Linked DNA regions of Homo sapiens: region 2 is linked to region 1. The links are contacts of gene promoters, found by promoter capture Hi-C in human tissues and cell types (Jung and others, 2019). All regions are on one chromosome and are shown on one strand. Each heading gives the region's core, a stretch centred on a gene start or on the middle of the fragment in contact. The rest is flanking DNA. Distances are from core to core; before and after follow the strand shown. Region 1 holds the start of AMACR (alpha-methylacyl-CoA racemase). Region 2 overlaps ADAMTS12 (ADAM metallopeptidase with thrombospondin type 1 motif 12).

Region 1 (6,564 bases), core at 2,028-4,527:
TTAATCTCTTCTTAAAATAAATATGTGAGCATCTTAGAGGAATAATCAATCTCTCCAGCAGATAATCTAAGTGAAAGCTAGTATACATCACTTTTCCAAATCTGAGCTTAGTCAGTAAACTCATAAACAGGCTTTCCCTCAAGACAGGATCCTTGTTTTGTTGTTTTCCTCTCTAAAACCTATTCCAACCAACATTTTCAAATATTGCTAAGTTTTTACTCACTTACTTTTGGAAAAGAAAATGATTATTTATTTTGTGGTTTTAAAACAGTAAATGCACTTTCATTCTTAGCATAAAGAAATGTAAGAAAATACTTGCAGACAAGAAAAAAAAGGAATTTAATTTTTAAGTAGATGTGAAGAGACAATTCTATACCCACTTCTTTCCTCAACTTTTAAATGTGTACTCACAGAAAATCTGAAATGTCCTATAGTCAACAACACATGGTTCTTAGAATTCTGGAATCAGGCCTATCTCACATGTCGTCACAGGCAAAAACTCTAATAAAGTGATATTAGGACCTGAAAACCATGGGCTTTTTTTAGTGCTCATAGAAGTCTGAAACAATGACTCAGGCAATGATTCTCAATATGGTGGGTGGAGATTTCGGGGTCCGGGGGAGAAGTAGCTGTCAGAATCTAACTATGTCAACATTTTCAAACCACAGAGCAACCATCCGTAGTACCCAGTAAGCCTCTTAATTCCTAGCAGGGGTTTGTCTGAGAATTGACTCAACAAATGTAGTAAATAAATGATAGTAGTGGGCATGTATTAACCTTCCAACCTGTTAAGGGATGGGGTGAGGGAAGGTTGAGAATGATTGTTTCAAGACTCAAACCGATCCATTTTGAACACCCATGCTCTCTTGATTGATTCTGATAAATGTTTAAATTTTTACCTTTACAAATTATTGTTAATCAACATACCTGTAGATCTTGATGGAATAAATTAAAAGTGTAGACTAAATTTTTTTTCAACATACCTGACAAAGCCAAATAGTTGATATCGTGGCCAGCTAACCGGCAGAAGCTTCCTGACTGGCCAAATCCACTCAGCCTGGCATAAATAAGCCTTGGATTTTCCCGCTGCAGAATCTCTGGGCCCAGCTGGAGTTTCTCCATGACACCTTAAGAGAAAAGTAACGATCTTCTTAAGAGAGTATGAATTGAGGATGGAGATAATCCCTTCTCTGAGACAAACATAAAATAGCACCATTGCAAGTAATATTAATAACATTTGCTGTAGGCTAATGGCATGTTTACAGCAGTTAAGGACTCAAAGAGTGAAGCCACCATTTCTGGAATGTGTGGCTTCTTCCCAGGATGTAATTTCTCCCAGTACATCTCTGTTTCCCTCTAGGTTTATCCAAGCCTATTTATTCAATCCCCAGAGCAGGGTCTCATCCCTTTAGTAAATCCCTTTTCTCTTTTTCTATACCGCATCAGTGTTTACCACATCCCACCTTAGCTGCACTTGCTTGTACATGCATACACTTATCTTCCCTATCAGCTCATGAGCTCCTCCTGCAGAATTTACACCTGATGTTTCCACAGGCGCTAAAGTGCCTAGCATCAGTACCTTCACGAAAAAGTTTAGCACCCATCTGTAGAAAGAGTGGTTAGTGACAATAGCACCTGAGAGTTTTTAAGCTATCAACAAGTATAGTATTTATAGCACAAACCCCAGGTAACCAGCACCTGAAATTTCCTGGGATTAAAAGTAATCAAAATTACATAATAAACTCACTATCTTTACCTTCCTAAGGCTAAAATAAATCACAGAAAACCTCTAGTCATCTACCTAAACACCAGTCACAACTCCTCACCCGGAGGCTATATCCGTATTCCCAGCCGACCTTCCTCCTAATTACAAGACCTTGGACAAGCCTCCCTCATCTTAAATGGAGCATTCTTAAATTATTACATAATCTTAATTATTAAATCATTATTGTTACAAGCCTCAAATACAGCTGTGAGGGTTAAATGAGTTAACGCATTTAAATAAGCCGGCTGTGCCGTAGGCATTCATTCATTCACCATTTACCGATTTCCCACTATAGACCAGGCAATGCTTTGGATTTCTACTTGAACAAAGTTATTCTGGCAGCTGTCTGAGAATCCACTGGAGTGATACCAGCCCCAAACACCAGTTTTTAAAAGGCTGTCACACCAGTGTCAAGGCAGTTGCAGCAGGTATGGAGAGAAATAGTCCGAGTGGGCTAAGGAGCAAAATGACTGTATTGATGATCATTGAAATTGGATGTGAAAGGAAGACTGGAGTCCATGATGAAGTACAAGTTTGAGATTCAGGCATTCACTGAAATAAATAATACAGAAGGTGGAGATGCTGTTTTAGAAGGAAGAAGGAAAGGCTCATTTTGGGATTTGTGGAAGCTGCCTGGCGGGCAGCCTTGACGGCGATGCCCAGGACCTGTGTATGCCAGCGTCTGCCGCTCTGAAAGGGGGAAGTCTACAAAAAGGTGAAAATGATGGGAATGGGTAACTGGGCTTCAGGGAGCAGATGCTGAGACTTAGAACGCCAGCATTTCAGGCAGGGAGGAGCGTTAGCCTGGGCCCGTGGATGGCTTGAGGGTACAGCACTCCAAAACGGTAGCCGAATGACCGCCTATATGCAGTTTTCCAGGAAGGGAATCCTATGGCTTTCATTAGATTCTCACAGGGTTCAAGACCCTCAATTAATTAAGAAAGGCAAATACGGAACGTTTCTTAGAAAAAAAAGGAGGAATTTGGGAAGGAGTCAGAGAGGCAAAAGGAGAAACCGGGCAACAGCAGTATCTCAGAACCCAAGTTTTGGACAATCCAGTTTGGGAAGAATGATCACTAACAATACCCTAGGAGGCAAAAATCTGGAAGGCTGGGGCCGACAAGGGTTCTTGCGGCAACAGGGCAAAGGTGTGGCGGGTGCAGCCTCGATCGAACGGCCAGGCCCCTCCCCTCCGCGGGAACTTCCCGAGAGCAGCCCGCGGGGCCCGGGCTCACCGCGGCGGAAGGGCTCCAGCAGCACATCCGACCGCTTGCACAGACGCCGCAGCACGGCGGCTCCCCGCGGCTGCTTCAGGTCCAGCACTAGCGAGCGCTTGCCCCGGCCCAAGCGGCTCACGTCGTAGCGGGAGCCGGGCCGGTCCACGCGTACCACACGCGCCCCGAAGTCAGCCAGGACCATAGCACAGAACGGGCCCGGGGCCAGGCCGGACAGCTCCACGACCGAGATGCCCTGCAGTGCCATGGCGCTTCCCAGTGCCCCGCTGAAGGAAACTGAGCAGCCCTTAGCCCCAGCCCAGCAGCCTGCAAGAAGCCCTCCCAATCCCCGGCGCCACGCCCCCAGCCGCGGCGCCGCGCCCCAAAGGCACCACCCCCGTCCCTCTTTTGCGGGCCTGCGCAAGCCCGCGGAGTCTGCGCACTGGGCGCTTCCCCACCCCCGGCCTCCCGGGACCGCCAGTGCCAAATGCAGTAGGTTGCTTTCCTTTTTGTGCAACCTAAATTCCTGAGTCTTAAATTGCAGGGACTGACCTTTGGAGCTCCTGCCTGTTACCGTCCTCTCTGGACGCTTTTATTGTACCAGGGCGATCCCCAGCCCAACTGTACCATTCGAGTCCCTACTCCTGCCTTGCTCTAGGGAAATAAAATAACGTAAACACGTAAGAACAATGCGAAAGCGTTTTCTTCCCTAGGCTGCAGATTGTCTTCTTCACCGCCCCTGCTTAGCTAGCTAGCTAGCTGGGAATTTAATCCAGAAACGGCTTGCGATACCTCCTAGATGCACTCGTTTTGAGTTACAAACTCCGCGGATTACATGTCTTTTTAAAAAAGTTTAGACTACACTAGGAAAATTATTTTAGTATCAGAAGAATATCAGGGGTGTAGTACTCATCAGAGCTAAATGAGAGCGCTTTAAAAATGTTAGTTTGTCTTCCGCCATTTCTACAGAAAGCTGCAATTTCAGGTTTTCAACCTAATAGGTGATATTTAAGAAAAAAAAAAAGCAATCGCAAATAGCCCCACTGCTTTTACAAATCATTTTTTCTCTTCTAGGTATAGCCTGTCAGGTGGCCTAATGTAATTTTTGACATCTCTAGGAATTTTAATAGAACCAGAAATGGGTGCCAGAGATATGCCTGCACTAATCTTAAGTGGGGATTTATGTATTTCTCAAGCAAGTGATTAAAGCAAAACTAGGCACGATTGAAATCAAGATCTTTTAGGCAAGAAAGTCATGATGAGTTTTAGAATTATTTTAGGACTCTGTGGCTTTCTCTTCATAGAAATAGAAAAAAAAATTGTATAAAACCACAAAAGGTCCTGAATAGCCAAAGCAACACTGAACAAAAAGAACAAAGCAGGAAGCAACACACTACCAGAATTCAAATTATACTACCAAGGTGTAGTAACCAAAACAGCATTCTATTGGCATAAAATAGACACAAAGACCAATGGAACAGAATAAAGAACCCCAAAATAAATCCATATATTTACAGCCAGCTGATTATCAATAAAAACACCAAGAACATATATTAAGGACATTCTATTCAATAAGTAGTGCTGGAAAAACTGGAAATCCATATGCAGAAGAATGAAACTAGACCCCTATCCCTCACCATACACAAAAATCAACTCAGAATGGATTAAAAAACTTAAGACATACAACCCAAAACTATAAAACTACTATAAGAAAACAGATAAAACACTTCAGGACATTGACCTAGGCACAGATTTTATGACTAAGACTTCAAAAGCATAGGCAACAAAAACAAAAAATAGGCAAATGGGACTATATTAAACTAAAAATCTTCTGCACAACAGAAGAAACAACAGAATAAACAACTTATTGAATAGAAGAAAATATTTTGCAAATTATTCATCCAACAAGTGACTAATATGCAGACTATACAAGAAACTCAAACAACTCAACAGCAAAAAATGAAATAATCTCATTAAAAAGTGGGCACAGGATCTGAACAGACATTTCTCAAAAGGCATACAAATGGCCAACAGGTATATGAAAAAATGCTCAACATCACTAATCATCAGGGAAATGCAAATCAAAACCACAATGAGATATCATCTTACTTCAGTTAGACTGGCTATTATCAAAAAGACAAAAAATAACAAATGCTGGCAAAGACGCAGAGAAGAGGAACTTATATATACTGTTGGTAGGAATGTAAATTAGTTTAGCCATTATGGAAAACAGTATGGAGGTTTGTGAGAAAACTAAAAATAGAACTTCTATATGATCCAGCAGTCCCACTACTGGATATATGTCCAAAAGTATCGGGGGAACCCGCCCCCAATATTTCAACATAGGTTCTTTCTATTTTCCCTAAGTGTCGGCCAGTCTGAGAAATAAAGGGAAAGAGTACAAAGAGAAGAATTTTACAGCTGGGCCACCAGGGGTGACATCACATATTGGTAGGTCCGTGATGCCCACCTGAGCCGCAAAACCAGCAAGTTTTTATTAAGGATTTCAAAAGGGGAGGAGGTTTAAGAACAGGGAGTAGGTCACAAAGATCACATGCTTCAAAGGGCAAACAAGAAGAACAAAGATCACATGCTTCTGAGGCCAATAAAGATCACAAGGCAAAAGGCAAAATCAAAAACTCCTGATAAGGGTCTATGTTCAGCTGTGCACATATTGTCTTGATAAAAATCTTAAGAGAAATCAGTATGTCAAAGGAACACCTGTACCCACATGTTTATTGCAGCACTATTCACAATAGCCAAAATATGGAATCAACTTGAGTGTCCATTACTGGATGAATGGACAAAGAGAATGTGTACATATACACAATGAAATATTGTTTGGTCATAAAAAAAGGATGAAATCCTGTCATCTGCAGCAACATGGATGGAACTCGAGGTCATTATGTCAAGTGAAATAAACTAGACACAGAAAGAAAAGTATCACACGTTCTCACTCAGATGTGGGAGTTAAAAATTTAATCTCATAAAGAGTAGAATGATGGGGGGGCAGAGATGAAAAGAGATTGGATAATGGGTATGAACATGTAGTTAGAAGGAATAAATAATAGCTAAATAATAGTATTTGATGGCACAGTTGGGTGACTATAGTTAACAACAGTATATGGTATATTTCAAAATAGTGGCCAGATGCAGTGGCTCACACCTGTGATCCCAGCATTTTGGGGGGTTGATGCAGCAGGATCACTTGAGGCCAGAAGTTCGAAACCAGCCTGGGCAACACAGTGAGACCCCATCTCTACAAAAAACTTGAAAAATTGGTGAAACCCCGTCTTTACTGAAAATATGAAAATTAGCTGGGCATGGTGGTGCGCGTCTGTAATCCCAGCTACCAGGGAGGCTGAGACAGGAGAATCACTTGAACCAGGGAGGCGGAGCTTGCAGTGAGCTGAGATCGTGCCACTGCACTCCAGCCTGGGCGACAGAGCAAGACTCTGTCTTGAAAAAAAAAAAATCTTGAAAAGTTATCTGGATGTGGGGTACACCTATAAACCTACTAACTCATGAGGCTGAGGTCTGAGGATCACTTGGGCCCATGAGTTTGAGGCTTCAGTGAGCTATAAT
Region 2 (6,811 bases), core at 1,411-3,910, 450 kb before region 1:
AGTTACCGCTAAAATAAAAAGGCAACGTTGCCTATGTGGGAAGACAGATTATTACAAAAAAAAAGTAAAAATCTTTCTGATTCACTTCAGAAATAAATCAAGATCTGCTAGACTTAGCTATGAAAAGGGCAATGTTCATTCTAACTGAAGTAATAAAGGGGTTGTCAAATCAGCAGTTGCCAAAACTTCAGAAGAAACAGACAAAATATCAGTGAGGAAGTGTGTGGAGCTGTGCAGATGATGCATCGTTTTGCTGTCAAACCCAGCTGAGGATTTTTCAAGCTCATTATTATCTCTTACTACATTTCTTCCATCAGAAGAATCACTTTTTCTCCCATATGATTTTTTTTTAAGATGGGGTCTCACTCTGCTGCCCAGCCTGGAATGCAGTGGTGGAATCTTGGCTCACTGCAACCTTTGCCTCTTGGGCTCAAGTGATCCGTCCACCTCAGCCTCCCGAGTAGCTGGGACTACAGGCATGTGCTGTACCAAGCCGGGCTAAGTTTTTTTGTATTTTCAGTGGAGACGGGGTTTTGCCATATTGCCCAGGCTGGTCTTGAACTGCTGAGGTCAAGTGATTGCCTGCCTTGGCCTCCCAAAGTGCTGGGATTATAGGCATGAGCTACAGTGCCCAGCCTCCCCCATACAAATTTTAACATTCTGAAACCGGCATGTGTCCTACAACTGATATACGTATTAATTGTGTAGTGTTTCATTTCTTTCTGAAAAGCTGTAATTAAAATGACATAATCCCCCAGGTGACGGTTTCTTAGAATTGAGACTATTCAATATTAGTTTTGTGATCAAGTATATATTGGTGATTTAAATACTCTAAGCCCTAGTTTCCTTAGTGGAAATTATAAAGTCCTGTATTATGGTAAAAATAAAATTGTTTATCCAAAGCTTCCATGCAATGTCAGACACGTGGCAGTACTACCACCCACAGTAGGTCAAGTCCTCCAGAGTTCAGGAACACTTTGAGCACCCTGACTGTGTAGTACTGGGGAGTGAACACCTTCTCAGGCCAGTTTCTCCATTGGCAGGGCTTACTTCACTAACCTGTCCACAGGCCTCTTGCCCTAAGTCCAGGAAACAAGAGATTAGTCAATGTCCAATAGCCAGCCCTAACTTTACCTAGAGCTCGACGTTTGTCCAGGGCCTTGTTTAGTCTTTTATCATGAACAGAGTTCATTGCACACATTTTCTCTTTTGATCCTTATAACAACCTCTACAAAGTAAGTAGAGGCAATATCATCCACTTCATTTCAGGGGTGAGAAAACTAAAGCTCCTAAGTAGTTAGATGAATGGCCAGTGTCACATACAGATTAATGACAGAGTAGGTTATCATGCCAGATACATCTGATTCCAAGTCAGACCCCTCTGGGATTCAATACTGCATAATTGCATTTTTCCAAGACTGCCTCTGGGAGAAACCTGAGGATGACAACCTTGATTTTGTTTCAGACAGATTAATGCACGAAGAGGAGGAAAGCCACTGTGATAAACTACTTGCAGACACTGGAAAGGTAGAGATCTGAATGTCTCAGTCCTCTGTCATGTTGTAAGGAACATGGCTGTGCTTTGGTGAAGGATAGGCCGAGGTAGGATGTTTACATCCTGTGTGACTCAGCAAGTTTAGAGTGCAGGTGTGTAACTCCACTTGTTATCACAGTCATGGAGCCATAACGTGGGAAGGCCATCACTTGGCTCTAAGCCACTGTTGTCTGTAAAAGGTATAACTGCCCTGTTTGACACAGTGTGGTCACACTGCACCAAGAGAAAGAGAGAGAGCCAAAGTTGTCCATCTGCAAAGATGGACAGAGGGGAGCCAGGACACAGCTCGGCTCACTCATGCCCAGAGAGAAAGAAAGAGTTAACCTGCTGACCCTGAAAGCAAGGGAAAGCCAGCCATGCAGCTGTGTGTGGGAGCCGGACTAAGCAGCCCAGATGGGGCGGACAGTGTGAAAAAGCTGCTGATGAGAGTTGCTGCTGAATAAAATAATCTTTCACCAGCCTGTGGCCCCCGAGTGTTCTTTCTGCTCATCCACCCACTCCCTTCAGACTGCAACATGACCTTTGGTGTAGTCATGAACCTGACATATGTATATGAGAAAATGTTCACAGCAGTTCTATCAGGCTTCATCAAGAAGAATGGTATGAGAGAAATAAGCCAGTAAAACAATTGCAATCCAGACAGCAATCACAGTGGTAGAAGTTCCTGGTGAGTAACCTGGATGCCTCAGGTATGATACCTGTGGGTTCAGGTGAGGCTGCAACATACCCTGTCATCCTATGAGAATTAAAGTGTTTCTGGATCTGGAGGAGAGATTGCTGGAATAATGTAGAAAATTCCAGGTAAAATTAGAATTTTTCTTTCTGAGAAAGTATCTGTGAAAAGGCAAATGATCAGTTCGGCAGAATCTAAACTCTCTGGATATTTAAAGGCAAAACCAGGGATCCTCTTTCCTGCTCTGGATTTTGAAGGTCTGCCACAAAGAGAGCATAAAAGGCCTATCAGAATTAGCGAAGCTCAGAGGGAAGGCCTTCAAATCTTTCTTAGCACATGATTTGGACTTTAGACATCCATATGAAAAAGGGGTCTCCAACTACTTGAAGCTAAGGCAGGAGTATTGTTTGAGCCCAGGAGGTTGAGGCTGGAGTGAGCTGTGAGTGGGCCACTGCACTCCAGCTTAGGTGACAAAGTGAGACCCCATCTCAAAAAAAAATTAATTAGAAAAAGGGGTCTCAATAATCAAGATTTAAGTTAATATCTCTAGGAAAGACAAGCCATGTATGCCAGGGATCCCCAATCCCCCAGTCTGTTATATCTCAGCCTGTTAGGAACCAGGCTGCACAGCAGGAGGTGAGCATCGGGCGAGCAAGCAAAGCTTTATCTGTATTTACAGCTGCTCCCCATTGCTCACATTACTGCCTGAGCTCGACCTCCTGTCAGATCAGCAGCAGCATTAGATTCTCATAGGGATGCAAAGCCTATTGTGAACTGTGCATGCAAGGGATATAGGTTGCACACTTCTTATGAAAATCTAGTGCCTGATGATCTGTCACTGTCTCCCATCACCCCTAGATAGGACCATCTAGTTGCAGGAAAACAAGCTCAGGGCTCCCACTGATTCTACATTTTGGTGAGTTTTATAATTATTTCATTATATATGACAATGTAATAATAATAGAAATAAAGTGCACAATAAATGTAATGTGCTTGAATCATCCCAAAACCATTCCCCCAGTCCGTGGAAAAAGAATTTTGTAGAGATCACAAAACTGGTCTCTAGTGACAAAAAGGTTAGGGACTGCTGATGTATGCAATACCCATAATAGTGGTCAGAAAAAACAAAAATCAGGGCAACTGACCATCAGTAGTTAAATAGCATCTTTGATATAAGGTTTATCTATTATCTAATAAAAGAGACACTTTCTTTACTGGTAGGAATACAGTAATTTTGAGGATTATATTTTAGATATAGTAGTTACCTCATTCTAGCTGAATTTGATGATGTGTCAGAAACAACTCCTACAAAACCACTCAGGGCACTACAGAGATTAATCAATATATCTGCAACCCTAAAGGCCATGAAAGAGAGAGAGAGAGGGGCATGAGAGACCCTATAGGCCAGGCAAGGAGTCAAGCCAGGCTTTCCTTAGGAGGCCGGACCCCAGAGATGAGCTTGCTAATCTTTCATCCAGAGTTTGCACTGGCTAGACTCCCTCAGGCTGGAGCTGACCTTTTCAAAACACAAGCTATTTCACACATCTTTCCTTTTCATGAGTCATGTAATTTCCAATGAAATGATTATTCCCAGTGACAGGAAAGTGGAACTTTAGGACTTGGTCAACATTTGGCAAGCTCAGGGATATGAGATGTTTCTTGAGATTTCTCTGGATATGGAAGAGAAGTTGTAGCCAAACTTTCAGTCCTTTTCAGATCCTGAGTTTGTTATGAGTTGGAAGAGAAATAAAAAAGACCAGTATCGATTCTTGAAAGAAAAATTATATAGAAAGAGAAAGAAGGTGGTAATTTTCTCAAGGAGTAGCCTCACAACCCCTCTCTTCCAAAGACCAGAGCCTTGCTTTGGGAAAGGGTCCGAAAGACCGACCATCAGACAGTAGCCTCCCATGTTCCTGTCTGATGGTAAGTCTGCCAGGAGAACCAGAGACAGAAATGCCCATTGCAACACCTCTGGGTCCTGTCTGTCTGGGGACATGAGCTCTTCACTAGATGAAGAAACAAATGTCTAGAGGTGACATCAGCTTCCCTAAACCTCTTGGGTAGCTCTTTCTTTTCCTTTCTCCTGTGTCTCAGCTATCAAGAGGAACCAGCTCCCTGGAGAGAAGACAGGGGCCTACCAGGCTTCCTAGGGTTGATCATGTATGGCAAACAGGTATATGCACAGCTCACACCTCTGTACTCTCTACCTGCCAACTGGCCCTCAATCTCACCACTGACCAGTGCCTTATAGCCCTGAATTATCCCCCAAGAACTGGTTAAGCCCTAGTCCAGCGTGACAAGCAGATTAGGCCTAGTTAGTGTCTCAAAGCACCAAGGCTAACTAATCTGAAAACCTGATACGTTCTTTTCACAAGGAACTATGGAGACAGCACAGCAAAATGAGTAATCACAGTAAGATTAGCAAAGATGGTAAAATTGCACTTTAAAAAGATCAGTATGGCTGGGTGTGGTGGCTTACGCCTGCAATCTCAGCACTTTGGAAGGCCAAGGCAGGCGGACCACTTGAGGTCAGGAGTTCGAGACCAGCCTGGCCAACATGGTGAAACCCCATCTCTACTAAAAATACAAAAATCAGCCTGGTATGGTGGTGCATGCCTGTAATCCCAGCTACCCGGAGGTTAAGGCACGAGAATCGCTTGAACCCGGGAGGCAGAGGTTGCAGTGGGCCAACATCACGCCATTGCATTTCAGCCTGGGTGACAAAGTGAGACTCCATCTCAAAAAAATAAAAATAAAAATAAATAAGAAGATCAGTGCAGGGAGTACGCTTTTAAAGAACAAATTATTCTTTATATCTCAGCTTTTGTTTCATTTTGGGTCTGGAAGATTAAGCCATATATTCGCTTTGTAAAGCACAGGTGATTCATGATTTAATTATATCCGTGATAATATAGGATTATTCATTAAAATGCTAAATTGAAGTAATATAGAAATAGCATTGCATGCTGGAGAAGCAATTAATAACCCAAACTTAACTTTTCTGGTTTATCTTGTAAGAGAAAGGACAGGTGGGTTACCACATGTGGGTTAATAAAAACTCTGTACTTCTAAGACTTTTGTGTAACTTGAAGTTGGCCTATGGTAATGCCCATGATTTGCTCATCCCTGATTTTATAAGAGGTAAAAGGGCAGCAGAAAGGTAGAAAAAAAAACACTGTTGGTGGGACTGCAAACTAGTTCAGCCATTGTGGAAGTCAGTGTGGCGATTCCTCAGGGATCTAGAACTAGAAATACCGTTTGACCCAGCCATCCCATTACTGGGCATATACCCAAAGGAATATAAATCATGCTGCTATAAAGACACATGCACACGTATGTTTATTGCGGCACTACTCACAAAGCAAAGACTTGGAACCAACCCAAATGTCCAGCAATGATAGACTGGATTAAGAAAATGTGGCACATATACACCATGGAATACTATGCAGCCATAAAAAATGATAAGTGCATGTCCTTTGTAGGGACATGGATGAAGCTGGAAACCATTATTATCAGCAAACTATCACAAGGAAAAAAACCAAACACCGCATGTTCTCACTCATAGGTGGGAATTAAACAATGAGAACACATGGACACAGGAAGGGGAACATCACACACCGGGGCCTGTTGTGGGGTGGGGGGAGGGGGGAGGGATAGCATTAGGAGATATACCTAATGTAAATGACGAGTTAATGGGTGCAGCACACCAACATGACACATGTATACATATGTAACAAACCTGAACGTTGTGCACATGTACCCTAGAACTTTAATTAAGAAAAAGAAAAAAAAAAAAAACGACTTTAGCAAGTGTTTATATAAGATTCCCTTTCCAACCCATCCCCACCTTCTCTACCTCCAAGACTCTGCCAAGCCTGATAAGTTACCTTGCTCCAGTTTCCCACTTTCCAGCCAGCACAGGGACGGAGGTGGCATCTTTTTGCAGGGTCAGGTCTCTGGATGGCCGCACAGTCAGAATCCATCTGGGTGCTGCACTCCACCCTTCTCCAGTAGGCCCCCAGGCCACATGTGGTGGAGCACTGTAGCAGGGAAGGAGAGAGATGACAGAGGCTGAGTGTCACCTTCTCACACATGCCCCATCACTGGGATCCTGGAGTCAGTTCTCAGTCCCGTTTGCTAACATTGCCCACAGAGCTTTTTAAAAATTACCAACACTTGGGGCACCCCACTCACACAAATTAATCTGAATCTCTTGGGGTAGGACCCGGGGATGCTCAGTATTAAAAATAATTCCCCAGCTTATTTTAAAAAATAGTCACGGTTGAGAAACCTTGATTTGCATGTAGAAGGAAAATTCAATGCAAATGGAAATTTGCTTCCCTTTAAAACTTATCCTGGCAGGCCAGGGGCAGTGGCTCATGCCTTTAATCCCAACACTATGGGAGGCTGAGGCAGGAGGATCCTTTGAGCCCAGGAGTTTGAGATCACCTGGGCAACATAGGGAGAACCCATCTCTAAAGAAATTTAAAAATTAGCCAGGTGTGGTGGTGTATACTTGCATTCCCAGCTACTTAGGAGGCTGAGTTGCTAGGACTGCTTGAACCTGGGAATTTGAAGCTGAA

Evidence for each region. The method cuts DNA at HindIII sites, captures the fragments that hold promoters and counts their contacts. A contact is called where the count stands out against the background at its distance.
Region 2: a fragment that was not itself captured here is called in contact with the fragment with the promoter of AMACR in region 1 in 2 of the 25 tissues and cell types used here (IMR-90 fibroblasts and mesendoderm cells).

Annotation. Positions count from the first base shown.
Region 1 is chr5:34,004,773-34,011,336 of GRCh38, forward strand. It overlaps AMACR (alpha-methylacyl-CoA racemase), which reads right to left and starts at 3,278. Exons shown (of 5, transcript NM_014324.6): 1 at 3,001-3,278; 2 at 984-1,127. The coding sequence starts at 3,247. C1QTNF3-AMACR (C1QTNF3-AMACR readthrough (NMD candidate)) reads right to left here. Exons shown (of 9, transcript NR_037951.1): 7 at 984-1,127. RefSeq lists a silencer at 3,415-3,494. The HindIII fragment of the contact is 16,164 bases long and covers 1-6,564 here.
Region 2 is chr5:33,554,912-33,561,722 of GRCh38, forward strand. It overlaps ADAMTS12 (ADAM metallopeptidase with thrombospondin type 1 motif 12), which reads right to left. Exons shown (of 24, transcript NM_030955.4): 20 at 6,116-6,268. Among named protein-coding and RNA genes, the nearest start is that of TARS1, 120 kb to the left of the region's middle. The HindIII fragment of the contact is 6,851 bases long and covers 1-6,086 here.